2 separate regions of the Homo sapiens genome follow, and region 2 is linked to region 1. Evidence: promoter capture Hi-C in 16 types of primary human blood cells and fetal thymus (Javierre and others, 2016). All regions are on one chromosome and are shown on one strand. The core of a region is centred on a gene start or on the middle of the fragment in contact, and the rest is flanking DNA. Distances in the headings are between cores, read along the strand shown.

Region 1 (6,379 bases), core at 1,492-3,991:
CTCGGGAGGCTGAGGCAAGAGAATCTCTTGAACCCAGAAGGCAGAGATTGCAGTGAGCCAAGATCGTGCCATTGCACTCCAGCCTGGGTGACAGAGCAAGACTCCATCTCGAGAAAAAAAAAAAAAAAGATGGTTTTATTCTGGAATAGGAGAGTATTTAAGGAAAGAAAATAAAAAATAAAGGAAAAAAAGAAATTTTAAAATTAAAAAAAATGATTTCATGTGTACAGAAGAATTTAGCAACAAGGATGTCCACCACAGCACTTGTCATAATGGCAAACCTGCTGAAACCCCAACCATTATGGATTAACTGCACAAGTTAAGAGAGAGCCACAAAATATTGTGACTGAAGGGGTTTTCAAAGATTGTTCCAAAACCCTGGGGATCCTCAAAAGTGAATCAATTTCTCTCTTTCATAATCTTTTTCATCTTCACTCTCCTATGAGTGCATAAAGCAAAAAATAATAAGCAGGTGACTTCTAAAAAGAAAAAACCTCTGGAAACTATGCCTCAACCCCATTCTAGAGCCTGCTGGGCCACTGCTCAGAAAAGGAAATGTGTGCCCCAGGCTGACCCACTCTTAAGACAACCCATTCTCCACATGCCTCTGCCTTCAGTTACACAGCTGTACCCAGAGAGGGGTCTTGTCTTTACTCAGCTGTCCATCCACCCTCCCTGTGTTGCAATGAATACATCCCTGGTATCTTCTGTGCCTGGCCCCAGCCCACCCCCTCCTCAGAGCTCCAGCCACACATTCCAGTGCCTTCGAGACTCACCTGCTTTGAAAGGTAGATCCTTACATTCAATTTTCTTGTTGAAATACTTCATGTGGTTTCTTTTTTCTTGACAAGCCTCTGACCAACACTTGGTGGTCATTCTTAAACCGTTGATTTTTCCCCTTCACACCTATTCCCCTCCACGATCACAATCTTCCCAGTCTCAAAAATGTCTCTACCTGGGACCTCAAGCCAGAAACCCAGGCAATATGGAGGCACTTCCTCTCCTCATTCCACATATGCCACTCATGGACAATTCCTGCTTTCCTCTAAGGCAGATGCTTACCACACCCCTACCCCCACCCTTCTATTTAGAAAATTTCTAAACATGCAAAAGAATTGCAAGAAAAGTAGAAGATATAATAATATACTGTGGATATGGATTCACTAGGTTTTTGCAGTTTTTTGTTTGTTTTTGTTTTGAGACGGAGTCTTGCTCTGTCACCCAGGCTGGAGTGCAATGGTGCGATCTCAGTGCAAGCTCTGCCTCCCAGGTTCAAGCAATTCTCCCTGCTTCAACCTTCCAAGTAGCTGGGATTACAGGCACCCACCACCATGCCCAGCTAATTTTTGTATTTTTCAGTGGAGATAGGGTTTTGTTACGTTGGCCAGCTGGTCTTGACCTCCTGACCTCAGGTGATCCGCCTGCCTTGGCCTCCCAAAGTGCTGGATTACAGGCGTGAACCGTCACACCTGGCCTTTTGTGTTTTTGTTTTTGTTTTGGTTTGTGTGTGTGTGTTTGTTTGTTTGTTTTTGAGATGGGGTTTCACTCTGTTGCCCAGGCTGGAGTGCAGTGGTGTGATCACAGCTCACTACAGCCTCAACCTGCTAGGCTCAAGCGATCCTCCCTTCTAAGCCTCTTGAGTAGCTGAGACTGCAGGTGCCCACCACCACACCCAGCTAATTTTTGTATTTTTTGTAGAGACGGGTTTTCACCATGTTGCCCAGGCTGTTCTCAAACTCCTGGGCTCAAGTGATTCCCCCCACCTTGGCCTCCCAAAGTGCTTGGATTACAAACGTGAGCCACTGTGCTGGGCCTATTTCTTTGTGTTTTAAGAGGCAGGGTCTTTCTCTGTTGCCCAGGTGGAGTACGATGATTCGATCATAGCTCACTGCAGCCTCAAACTCCTAGGCACGGGAGACCCTCCTGCATCAGCCTCCCGAGTAGCCCAGACTACAGGTGTGTGCCACTATACCTAGCTAATGAAAAGAATTTTTTTGTAGACATGAGTTCTTGCTATGTTGTCTAGGCTGGTCTGGAACCTCCAGCCTCAGGCGATCCCCTTGCTTCAGTCTTCCAAAGCAGTGGGGTTACAGGCGTGAACCACCTGGCCTGGTCTCGCTCTTTCTCTTTCGACATCTACATTGATCTGTAGCTATCTACGTACTATAGATATCTAAAAGTTATGTAAATGTCTACTTAAGCTTATAGGTATGAGCTACTGTATGCTATCTAAGCTTATAGGTATGAGCTACAAATTGCTATTGTGTTATGAGGGGAATTCAAAAAGTTGATGGAGAATGGAATTAAGAGATAAAAATTTTAAAAAAATCTTTATTTCTCACCATAAACTCCATCAAGGTCAAAGTCAAGACACTTTTGTAAACCATTATACCAGCCATTTAGTCTATCCCTAAATAACTGAGGGTCCCAGGAATTTAATCATGTCAGTGCAGCCTTTTTACATTTTCTCTTTCTTTTTTTTTTTGATGGAATCTCACTCTGTTGCTCAGGCTGGAGTGCAGTGGTATGATCTCGGCTCACTGCAACCTCTGCCTCCCGGGTTCAAGCCATTCTCCTGCCTCAGCCTCCTGAGTAGCTGGGACTACAGGCATGTACCACCACATCTGGCTAATTTTTTTTTTTTTAGTAGAGACGAGGTTTTGCCAAGTTGGCCGGGCTGGTCTCAAACTCCTAACTTCAGGTGATCTGCCCGCCTCGGCCTCCCAAAGTGCTAGCATTACAGTTGTGAGCCACTGTGCCAGGCCTTTTTTTTTTGTTCTTGTTGCCCAGGCTGGAGTGCAGTGGCATGATCTCGGCTCACTGCAACCTCCACCTCCTGGGTTCAAGTGATTCTCCTGCCTCAGCCTCCCGACTAGCTGGGATTACAGTCATGAGCCACCACACCTGGCTAATTTTTGTATTTTTTTTTTTAGTAGAGACAGGGTTTTGCCATGTTGGTCAGGCTGGTCTTGAACTCCCAACCTCAGGTGATCCACCCTCCTTGGCCTCCCAAAATGCTAAGATTACAGGCGTGAGCCACTCCGCCCAGCCCAGTCTTTTTACATTCTTAACTGAAGAAAAATGGGTGCCCTTCAAAGATTTTAAGATTAGGAAACAAAAAGTCAGAAGGAGCCAAATTGGGACTGCCAAGTGGATGCCTAATAATTTCCCATCAAAACTTGTAAAATTGCTCGTTTGATGAGGAGAATGAGCAGAAGCGTAGACATGCTGGAGAAGAACTCTCTGGTGAAGCTTCCCAGGCTTATTTCTACTAAAGCTTCGGCTAACTTTCTCAAAACACTCTCATAATAAGCAGATCTTATTATTCTTTGACCCTACAGAAAGTCAACCAGCAAAATGCCTTGAGCATCCCCAAAAACTGTTGCTATGACCTTTGCTCTTGACCAGTGTGCTTCTGCCTTGACTGGATCACTTCCCCGCTCTTGGCAATCATTCTCTGATTACGATTTGTCTTTAGGATTGCACCCGTGAAACCATGTATCATTTCCCGTTACAATCCTTCAAGGAAATGCATTAGGATCTCGATCTCACTTGTTTAGCATGTCCATGGAAAGCTCTGCTCTTCTCTGCAGCTGATCTGGGTGCGACCGTTCTGGCACCCATCGAGTGGAAAGTTTGTTTAGCTTTAATTTCAGTCAGAATTGTGTAAGCTGAGGCCGGGTGAGGTGGCTCAAGCCTGTAATCCCAGCAGTTCGGGAGAATGAGGCAGGAGGATCACTTGTGTCCAGGAGTTCAAGACCAGCCTGGGAAACCTAATGAGACCCCCATCTCTACAAAAAATACGAAAATTTAGTGTCAGGCCTCTGAGCCCAAGCTAAGCCATCATATCGCCTGTGACCTGCACGTATACATCCAGGTGGCCTGAAGCAACTGAAGAGCCACAAAAGAAGTGAAAATAGCCTTAACTGATGACATTCCACCATTGTGATTTGTTTCTGCCCCACCCTAATGATCAATGTACTTTGTAATCTCCCCCACCCTTAAGAAGTTTCTTTGTAATTCTTCCCATCCTTGAGAATGAACTTTGTGAGATCCGCCCCCTGCCCGCAAAACATTGCTCCAAACTCCACCGCCTATCCCAAAACCTATAAGAATTAATCATAATCCCACCACCCTTTGCTGACTCTCTTTTTGGACTCAGCCTGCCTGCACCCAGGTGAAATAAACAGCCTTGTTGCTCACACAAAGCCTGTTTGGTGGTCTCTTCACAGGGACGCGTGTGACACTTAGCTGAACGTGCTGGCACGCACCTGTAGTTCCAACTACTTCGGAGGCTGAGGTGGAAGGATCGCTTGAGCCCAGGAGGTTGAGGCTGCAGTGAGCCACAATCTCACCACTGTACTCAGCCTGGGCGACAGTATGAGAACCCTGTCTCAAAAAAAAAAAAAAAAAAAAAGAAAAAAGAATTGTGTAAGCTGTACCAATTGAGATGTCTATGGTGTTGGCTATTGTTTCTGCTGTTAACTGTAAGTCCTCTTTAATTAAGGCATAAACAAATTTAATTTTTTTCTGCAAAAATTGATGTGGATGGTATGCCACGGTGGGCTTCATCTTCAGCATGACCCAGGCTGGAGTGCAGTGGCGCAATCACGGCTCACTGCAACCTCTACCTCCCAGACTCAAGTGATCCTCCCACCTCAGCCTCCTGAGTAGCTGGAACTACAAGTGTGCACCACCACACCCAGCTAATTTATGTATTTTTTGTACGGATGGGGTTTCACCATGTTACCCAGGCTGGTCTCGAATTCCTGAGCTCCAATGATCCGCTGGCCTCAGCCTCCCAAAGTATTGGGATTACAGGCGTGAACCACCACGCCCGAACTTGTCCCTTCTTAAAACGAGTTATCCATTTGTAAATGGCTGATTTCTCTGGGGCACTGTCAAGTTTTTGGAAAACATCAATGATTTCATCATTCTTCCACCCAAGCTTCACCATCAATTTGATGCTTGTTCTTGCTTCAATTTTAGAATTCGTGTTGCTCTGATAGGGGCTCTTTTCAATCTGATGTTTTATTTTAGTGTCTCAAACTAGGTCCTGTTCAGACAAGTTATAACAAGTTAGTATGAATTTATTTTGGTGCAAAAAAAAAAAATTGAACTCCATGCATAGTTTTTTCATAATACACATTTTCCATGAATTTTTGGAAGACCCTTCTTTTTCTCTCTTTTTTTTTTTTTTTTTTTTTTCTGTAGAGATGGTCTTGTTCTGTCACCCAGGCTGGAGTGCAGTGGCACAATCATGGCTCACTGCAGCCTCGACCTCCTGGGCTCAAGCAATCCTCCCACCTCAGCTTCCTGTTACTGGGACTATAGGTGTGCACCACCACACCTTGATAATTAAAAAAAAAAATTTTTTTGTAGAGATCGGGGTGGGGGGGGGGGTCTCACTATATTTTCCAGGCTGGTCTTGAACTCCTGGCCTCAAGTGACCCTCCCCAATCAGCCTCCCAAAGTGCTGGGATTACAGGCACAAGCCACAGTGCCTGGCCAATAAATGTTTTTTGAATGAATGAAGAAATTAGTGCATGGACATATTTTCCCATCAGCTATTACAATAACCAGACTCTGAGTTCCCTGAAGGCAGGGCCTGTGAGTTTCATTGTGTACCCTCAGCCCTCAATAGCTGATAAAAATAAATATTCAGAAAATGCTTGTAAAATGAAGAAGAGAATATGTATGGGACAGAAAGTAGACCAGTGGTTGCCTGGGGCTGGGACAGGGAATAGGGAGCGACTGCAAATGGGCAGAAGGGATCTTTTCAGAGTGATGGAAATGTTCTTGAATTGGCTGTGATGGCTGCAGAACTGTAAAATCACCCAAAATCAGTAAATCACTTATAATAGGTGAATTTTATGACAGGTAGATTATACCTCAGTAAAGCTGTTAAAACAAAACCAGTGTTGAGGGAGGAAATAAATGTTACCTTGGTAATACTGAGGACTCAGTAGTTATCAAGACAGCTCTCTTCCCTGCCCTCATGAGGTTTTCTGTGCAGGGCGGGGACGCCGACCCATTATAGACAGTGACAGCCTAGAGCCATCACGGCGGGATGGTGGGGAGGGGACAGGCAGAGGGGTGGGAGGCCAGGATGGGGGAAGCCCGGGCAGAGAGGTTGGGCTGGAATGGGGGGCACAGGCAGAGGGGTCGGGGCGGGGACTGGTGAGGTGCAGGCAGAGGGCAAAGGGGTCGAGGTCCAGATGGGAGATGTACAGGCAGACGGATCCGGGCCAGGGCGGGGAGGTACAGGCCCAGTTGAGGAGCATAAGGAACCATAGGAGCCCAAAGGAGGCGCCCGACCAGTCAGGGAGGACTTCCCAGAGGGGTGAATGGCTGAGCCAGGGCCTGAAGTATAATGTTC
Region 2 (6,379 bases), core at 603-3,102, 740 kb after region 1:
CTGTGACCCCACCACTCCATTGCGGCAGCTCAACATCGTCACCACTGACCTCCAAATGATCAACCCTCCCATGACCCGGCTGTCAGTAAGGCTGAAACAGCTGGTCAGCCCTCACATCTCAGACATGCTCTTTTCTTGGCCCCAGGTCACCACCATCTCCTGGTTTCCCCCTAACTCTCTGGGCGTTCCTTCTGAGTCTCCTTTGCTAGCTTGTCACATGTCTCTGACTGCTCAAGTTGGAAGGCCTAGGGCTTGGTCCTGGGACCTCTTCTCTTTTCCATCTACACTCACTTCGTTCAGGCAATAGCCTGAAATACCATCTATATAGCCAGAGAGTTCCAAATTGCCTATGTCCAGCTTGGGTCTCTCTTCTGATTTCCAGACTTGTACAGATCTGGGCAGAAACCTTAGTTATGCCTGAATCTTTTTCCTCGCACTCAAACCAAACTATACGTAAGTTTTGTCCGTATTACTTTCAAACTACATCCAGAATCTCATCACCTCCACTACTCCTGCTCTGGCTGGAGCCACCATCACCTCCCTGTTTTCCCCCATACTCCCCACAATCAACACAGCAGCCAAATTTTGTTAAAATGTATTGGGGCTGGGCGTGGTGGCTCATACCTGTATGAGCACTTTGGGAGGAGGATTGCTTGAGCCCAGGAGTTCAAGACCAACCTGGGTGACATCGTGAGACGCTGTCTCAATTTTTTTTTTTTTTGAGACAGAGTCTTGCTTTGTCGCTCACGCTGGAGTACAATGGCACGATCTCGGCCCACTGCAACTTCTGCCTCCCAGGTTCAAGTGATTGTCCTGCCTCAGCCTCCCGAGTAGCTGGGATTACAGGCGCCCGCCACCATGCCTGGCTAGTTTTTGTATTTTTAGTAGAGACAGGGTTTCGCCATGTTGGCCAGGCTGGTCTCGAACTCCTGACCTCAGGTGAGCCACAGGTCTTGGCCTCCCAAAGTGTGGGGATTACAGGCGTGAGCCACCGCCCCCGGCCTCCCGTCTCAAACGTTAAAGAGAAATATTCTTGGAGTTAATCTACTTCTGAGAGTTATTTAGCTAGGAAAAGGGGATATTTGCTCTATAGGTAAGACTTGCCCTAATCTTTTTTTTTTTTTTTTTTTTGACTTGCCCTAATCTTAGGGATATTTACTTGTGTGGAGAGATGCAGTGAGGTAGCGGTGGGGATGTATTTCTCAACCCAGCGCAATGACATTATCTTCAATTTGAGGAGTATTTACGTGGGTGAAAGATCCGCCACAGTCCACAGTATGCAAATAGACAGGTTTGCTTCAGTCCGGGATGCAAGGACCTAGAGGGTGTGTGTGTGGGGGGTGGGGGTGGGAGGGTGGAGGAGGAATCGAGTTAAGGGGGATATTTACCCTGGCGAGGTGATTTTCCCTATTCTGAAATATCAATTCTTGGGCGGACAGTCTGCCCCTCCTCTCATTCTCAGAGATAGTTACAAAGATGGAACTATCTTCTCCTTTCTAGTCGTGAGGGAGAGATGTGTGTATCCCTGCGTATTTAGTAGTATTCAATCGGACAAGAAATCATGCATCAACGCAGGAGTGACATTTACCAGCTGGTATCGTGAGGAGGTGGGCACTCGGTTGCACAGTACACGGTAGTCCCTCTCCAAAAGAAAGACCTGGGTGAAGTTCTTACCTTGCAGGAAGGAAGCAGAGCCATCTGGCCGCGACAGCAGGTTCTGTTCGCAGGCAAAGTGCCGGAGGCTGCAGCCAGGACCCCGAGGGCTGGACCCTGTTCCATTTTCAGCACGGATTTTGGCGTCAGTATGCGTCTCCTCCTCCATCGCGCCGAGCCCACGTGCGGCTGCAGTTGTCACTTCCGCCTGGCAGCGCGCGCCGCAAACAGGCTGCGTAACCAGTGCGCACGCGCCGGGCTGGGCCATCCTCCTGGGCGTCCGCACGTGGCTTAGCGTTTACCAACAATCTGGCTCCGCCCAGTCCCACCTCCTAACTCTGGCAACGCCATTGGACATTTGGGAACAGAAGGCAGGCCTTGGCATTGATCCGCTTTACTCTGGGCCCCCGGGCCCTAAATCCCTGAGGCCCTGGTCAGGTTGCCCTCTTCTTTGCCTGTTACAGGAGTAACTACAATGAGGCGATTGGAGAAAATTTTGGGTAGATAGATTTTTTTTTCTCCAAATCTCTGTGCATTCTATCTACCACAGAACGGGAAGAAGATGGTTTTCTTGTCAGATGGTGCTGGAGTTTGCGTCAGGCACATAAAGAGGCAGCCCCGAATCTAGCCTACGTGAGTGCCGGACCGCTGAGTGGTTGTTAGCCAAGATGGCGGTAGCGATCGCTGCAGCGAGGGTCTGGCGGCTAAACCGTGGTTTGAGCCAGGCTGCCCTCCTGCTGCTGCGGCAGCCTGGGGCTCGGGGACTGGCTAGATCTGTGAGTACCTGGGCCCCAGGCGGTTTTCCCAAAGGGGATTAGGGATGTAAAGGCTATCTTCAGAGTGTGGGGTCCCTGAAGGATATGAAGGAAGGGCTGTCACAAAAGGGAAAAAGAGTGGGAGACTCCTTGGAGAAGACACCGAAGGGAAGATCTGCCACTTCCTTAGGAGACGAAAAGAACTTCCACTTCTTTAGGAGAGGAAAAAACCCGTTTGCAACTTCTTTGTGGGCCCTGAGGGAGACGACTTGAAGAGAGAGATGGGGGTTCCTTATTAGCTGCCACTGGTATTCAGGGGAGGCTCCTTGGAGGAACAGGGGAAGACCGCAAGACCTTCTCCCTCAGGGTTTGGAGAATGAAACTGACTTTGTAAGGGAGGGACTTTCTTCTGGGCAAAGATCCCTCTTCAAGAAGAAGAAAGAAGAGAACAGGTCCCTGTCACAGGCTGCATAGGGCCTTGTATTTCTTTGCTCCTTTGCCACAATTCTGATTTTAAAATGAATTGTGTAAAAAATTTGTTTGATTCCTGTGTCTCTTGATCGAATATCAAGACAGAGAATTCGTGTGTTCTGGACACTGTACAGAGGAGACGATTAATATTTGTTGAATTAATGAGGGGAAAAAAGGAGGGAGAGAGGTACAGACAGGGCACTTTGCCCACATTTCTTAGAAACACTTGAGAAGGCTTTGTTTCTTGTCAAAAGGGTCACAATCCCTTCAGGTGGATGCTGCTAAGGGCAAGATTACACTGCAAAAAACCTAGGTGGAAGCCTATCTTTAGACGGGGAGAGGCAATGGGTTGCAGAAGAGCTTTGAACTACAGTTGACAGATAGGAGAGTAGTGGTTACATGGGTGGATGCATGTCCTTGCTCTGCCGCTTTCCACTTGTGTAGCCTTGGCCAACGGACTGCACTTCTCTGGATCTATGGAGCTAATTTTCCTCTCTAAAATATTAACAGTGGCCACCTCATAGGGCTGTGAAAAATCAATATGTAAAATGCTAAGGACTGGACCTGGCACATCCTAAGGGCAATAGGAATGTTGATAGTGAGGGTGGAGGGAAGGGACAGAAACTAACCTTGGAGATGGGGAGAAGAAAGGGGTGACCTTGGGAAGGCCTGGATTGGTGAGGCCCTGGGGAAAAAAATCTGAAAAGATATTGTGAGGTTGAGTCTGATCCTCTGATCCCCAATCCATAAGGAGGGGAAGATGGAATCTGTAGAAAGAAGCTCTGGGTAGGGGAACAAACGGGAGGAGGGTGAAGAAGATGGGCCAGGAGTAGGACGTAGTAGGTATCTAGGAACGGAGTCACTTGAAACAGGTAAATACAGAAGGGCTGCAGGAGCAAGGTGTGGGTAGGGCAGTCTCTTGCCTTTGGGCTGGAGACCTTTTCACTTTTTTTTTTTTTTTTTTTTTTGAGCAGTTCATATCCTCCACAGCTGATCTCAGTCCCAGGGGCCCATTGGCTGGGCAAGTGGGGCAGGAGGTGGGCAGGACTGGGGCAGGCTAGGGAAAGGTCATTTATGGCTGATTAAATCTTTCTCTCCTGTCTCAATCTCTTGATTACCTTTCCTCTTGCTTCCCCTACTTCATTTTTGGTGGGGAGTGGGGAGGGAAGAAGTCCCTACTTTTTATTTATATATATTTAAATTTGTATTATCTTAAGAGTTATTGTTTTTTCCCCTTTATTTCTCCCACCTGTTCTTTCTCTCTTCTTCTTTCTTTCCTCTCCTTCTCCTCTCCTCTCCTCCCCTCTCCTTTTTCTTTTCTTTTCTTTTTCCCTTTCCTTTCCTTTCCTTTTCTCTTCTCTTTTCTCTCTCTCTTTCTTTCTGTACCTCTCTTTCCTTTTTCTTTTTTTTTCTTTTTTGAGACAGAGTTTCACTCTCTCGCCTAGGCTGGAGTGCAGCAGCATGATCTTGACTTACTGCAATCTCTGCCTGCCGAGTTCAAGCAATTCTCCTGCCTCAGCCTCCCTAGTAGCTGGGATTACAGGCATGCACTATCACGCCTGGCTAATTTTTGTATTTTTGGTAGGGACGAGGTTTCACCATGTTGTCCAGGCTGGTCTCGAACTTCTGGCCTCAAGTTCCGCCTGTCTTGGCCTCCAAAAGCATGAGCCACTGCGCCTAGCCTTTTCTTTTTTTGAGACAAGGTCTCACTCTGTCACCCAGGCTGGAGTGAGTGCAGTGGTGTGATCATGGCTCACTGCAGCCTCAACCTCCTGGGCTCAAGCAATCCCCCCACCTCCACCTCCTAAGTAGCTGGGACCACAGGCACGTGCTACTACGCCTGGCTAATTTTTAATTTTTTTTTTTTTTTTTGAGACGGAGTCTTGCTCTGTCACCCAAGCTGGAGTGCAGTGGCACGATCTCGGCTCACTGCAACCTCCACTTCCCAGGTTCAAGTGATTCTCCTGCCTCAGCCTCCCAAATAGCTGGGACTACTGGCGTGCGCCACCATACCCAGTTAATTTTTGTATTTTTAGTAGAGATGGGGTTTCACCATGTTGACCAGGCTGGTCTTGAACTCCTGATCTAAGGTGATCTGCCCGCCTCGGCCTCCCAAAGTGCTGGGATTACAGGCATAAGCCACTGTGCCTGGCTGCGCCTGGCTAATTTTTAAATCTTTGTAGAGATGGGGTTTTGCCATGTTTTCCAGGCTGGTCTTGAACTCCTGGACTCAAGCGATCTTCCTGCCTCAGCCTCCCAAAGTGCAGGATGACAAGCGTGAGCCACCTTGCCTGGCCATATTATTAAATTATCATGAGTTTAAGTTTAAGTAGCCACAAGTGGGCTGGGTGCGGTGGCTCATGCCTGTAATCCCAGCATTTTGAGAGGCCAAGGTGGGCGGGTTGCCTGAGGCCAGGAGTTCAAGACCAGCCTGGCCAACATGGTGAAACCCCATCTCTACTAAAAATACAAAAAAATTAGCTGGGCGTAATGGCGTGTGCCTGTAGTCCCAGCTACTTGGGAGGCTGAGGCAGAAGAATCGCTTGAACCTGGGAGGCGGAGATTGCAGTGAGCCGAGATCGCACCACTATACCCCAGCCTAGGTGACAGAGCAGCCCTCTGTCTCAAAATAAGATAGCCACAAGTGGTTGGTGGCTGCCACATTAGATGGTGCAGGGTTTTTGTTTTGTTTTGTTTTTTGTTTTTTCGAGGTGGAGTTTTGCTCTCATTGCCTAGGCTGGAGTGCAATGGCATGATCTTGGCTCACCACAACCTCCTCTTCCTGGGTTCAAGCGATTCTCCTGCCTCAGCCTCCCGAGTAGCTGGGATTACAGGCATGCACCACCATGCCTGGCTAATTTTGTATTTTTAGTAGAGACAGGGTTTCTCCATGTTGATCAGGCTGGTCTTGAACTCCCGACCTCAGGCGACCCACCCACCTCGGCCTCCCAGAGTGCTGGGATTACAGGTGTGAGCCACCATGCCTGGCTAAGATGATGCAGTTTTATCCAGGTGGAGATGAAGAAATAGTCAGGGAAAGGTTGAGAGGCTGCATATTGTAGACAGATTGGATTACTGGGTTCACTGGGGAAGATTGGATTAGAAGGAGGAGTGGGGCTGCTTTACTTGTCCCCGACTTCTTGCCCCTGCTCTGCCCACTCCTTCATTGAATACCCTGCTGCCCTGCAGATGTGTTTGCCTGATTTTCACCTCCCTTCCTGTCTCTGTTATCATAGCAGACGTTTTAGTGCTCAGGGAAAGGAGGAGGAAGGAAACTCAGATTGTCAAGGAATTGTGAGTCAGTTTCTCAGCCACTACCCCAGGCCTGGGCTTGGCTAAGTCATTTCACCTCTCTGACCCTAGCTAGTGGGGTGAATAGAGTCCCTACCCTGTTGGAAGTCAGGAAGCCCCTGGAGCTCGCTCTGTGCTAATTATCGGTGACTATTTCTGTGACCCAGCTCTTCAGGGGCAGCCTGTCTGGGGGTTCCAGTGCCCTGTGC

What was found. The method cuts DNA at HindIII sites, captures the fragments that hold promoters and counts their contacts. A CHiCAGO score of 5 or more calls a contact.
Region 2: the fragment with the promoter of EXOSC5 here is called in contact with a fragment that was not itself captured in region 1 in 1 of 17 cell types (naive CD8 T cells); the score reaches 5.4 in naive CD8 T cells.

What each region holds. Positions count from the first base shown.
Region 1 is chr19:40,656,159-40,662,537 of GRCh38, forward strand. No RefSeq gene overlaps it. Among named protein-coding and RNA genes, the nearest start is that of NUMBL, 31 kb to the right of the region's middle. The HindIII fragment of the contact is 1,018 bases long and covers 2,233-3,250 here.
Region 2 is chr19:41,395,507-41,401,885 of GRCh38, forward strand. EXOSC5 (exosome component 5) reads right to left here and starts at 1,853. Exons shown (of 6, transcript NM_020158.4): 1 at 1,675-1,853. The coding sequence starts at 1,822. It overlaps BCKDHA (branched chain keto acid dehydrogenase E1 subunit alpha), which reads left to right and starts at 2,312. Exons shown (of 9, transcript NM_000709.4): 1 at 2,312-2,429. The coding sequence starts at 2,322. RefSeq lists a silencer at 1,776-2,064 and enhancers at 1,823-2,495, 2,061-2,340, 2,496-3,167. The HindIII fragment of the contact is 9,689 bases long and covers 1-6,379 here.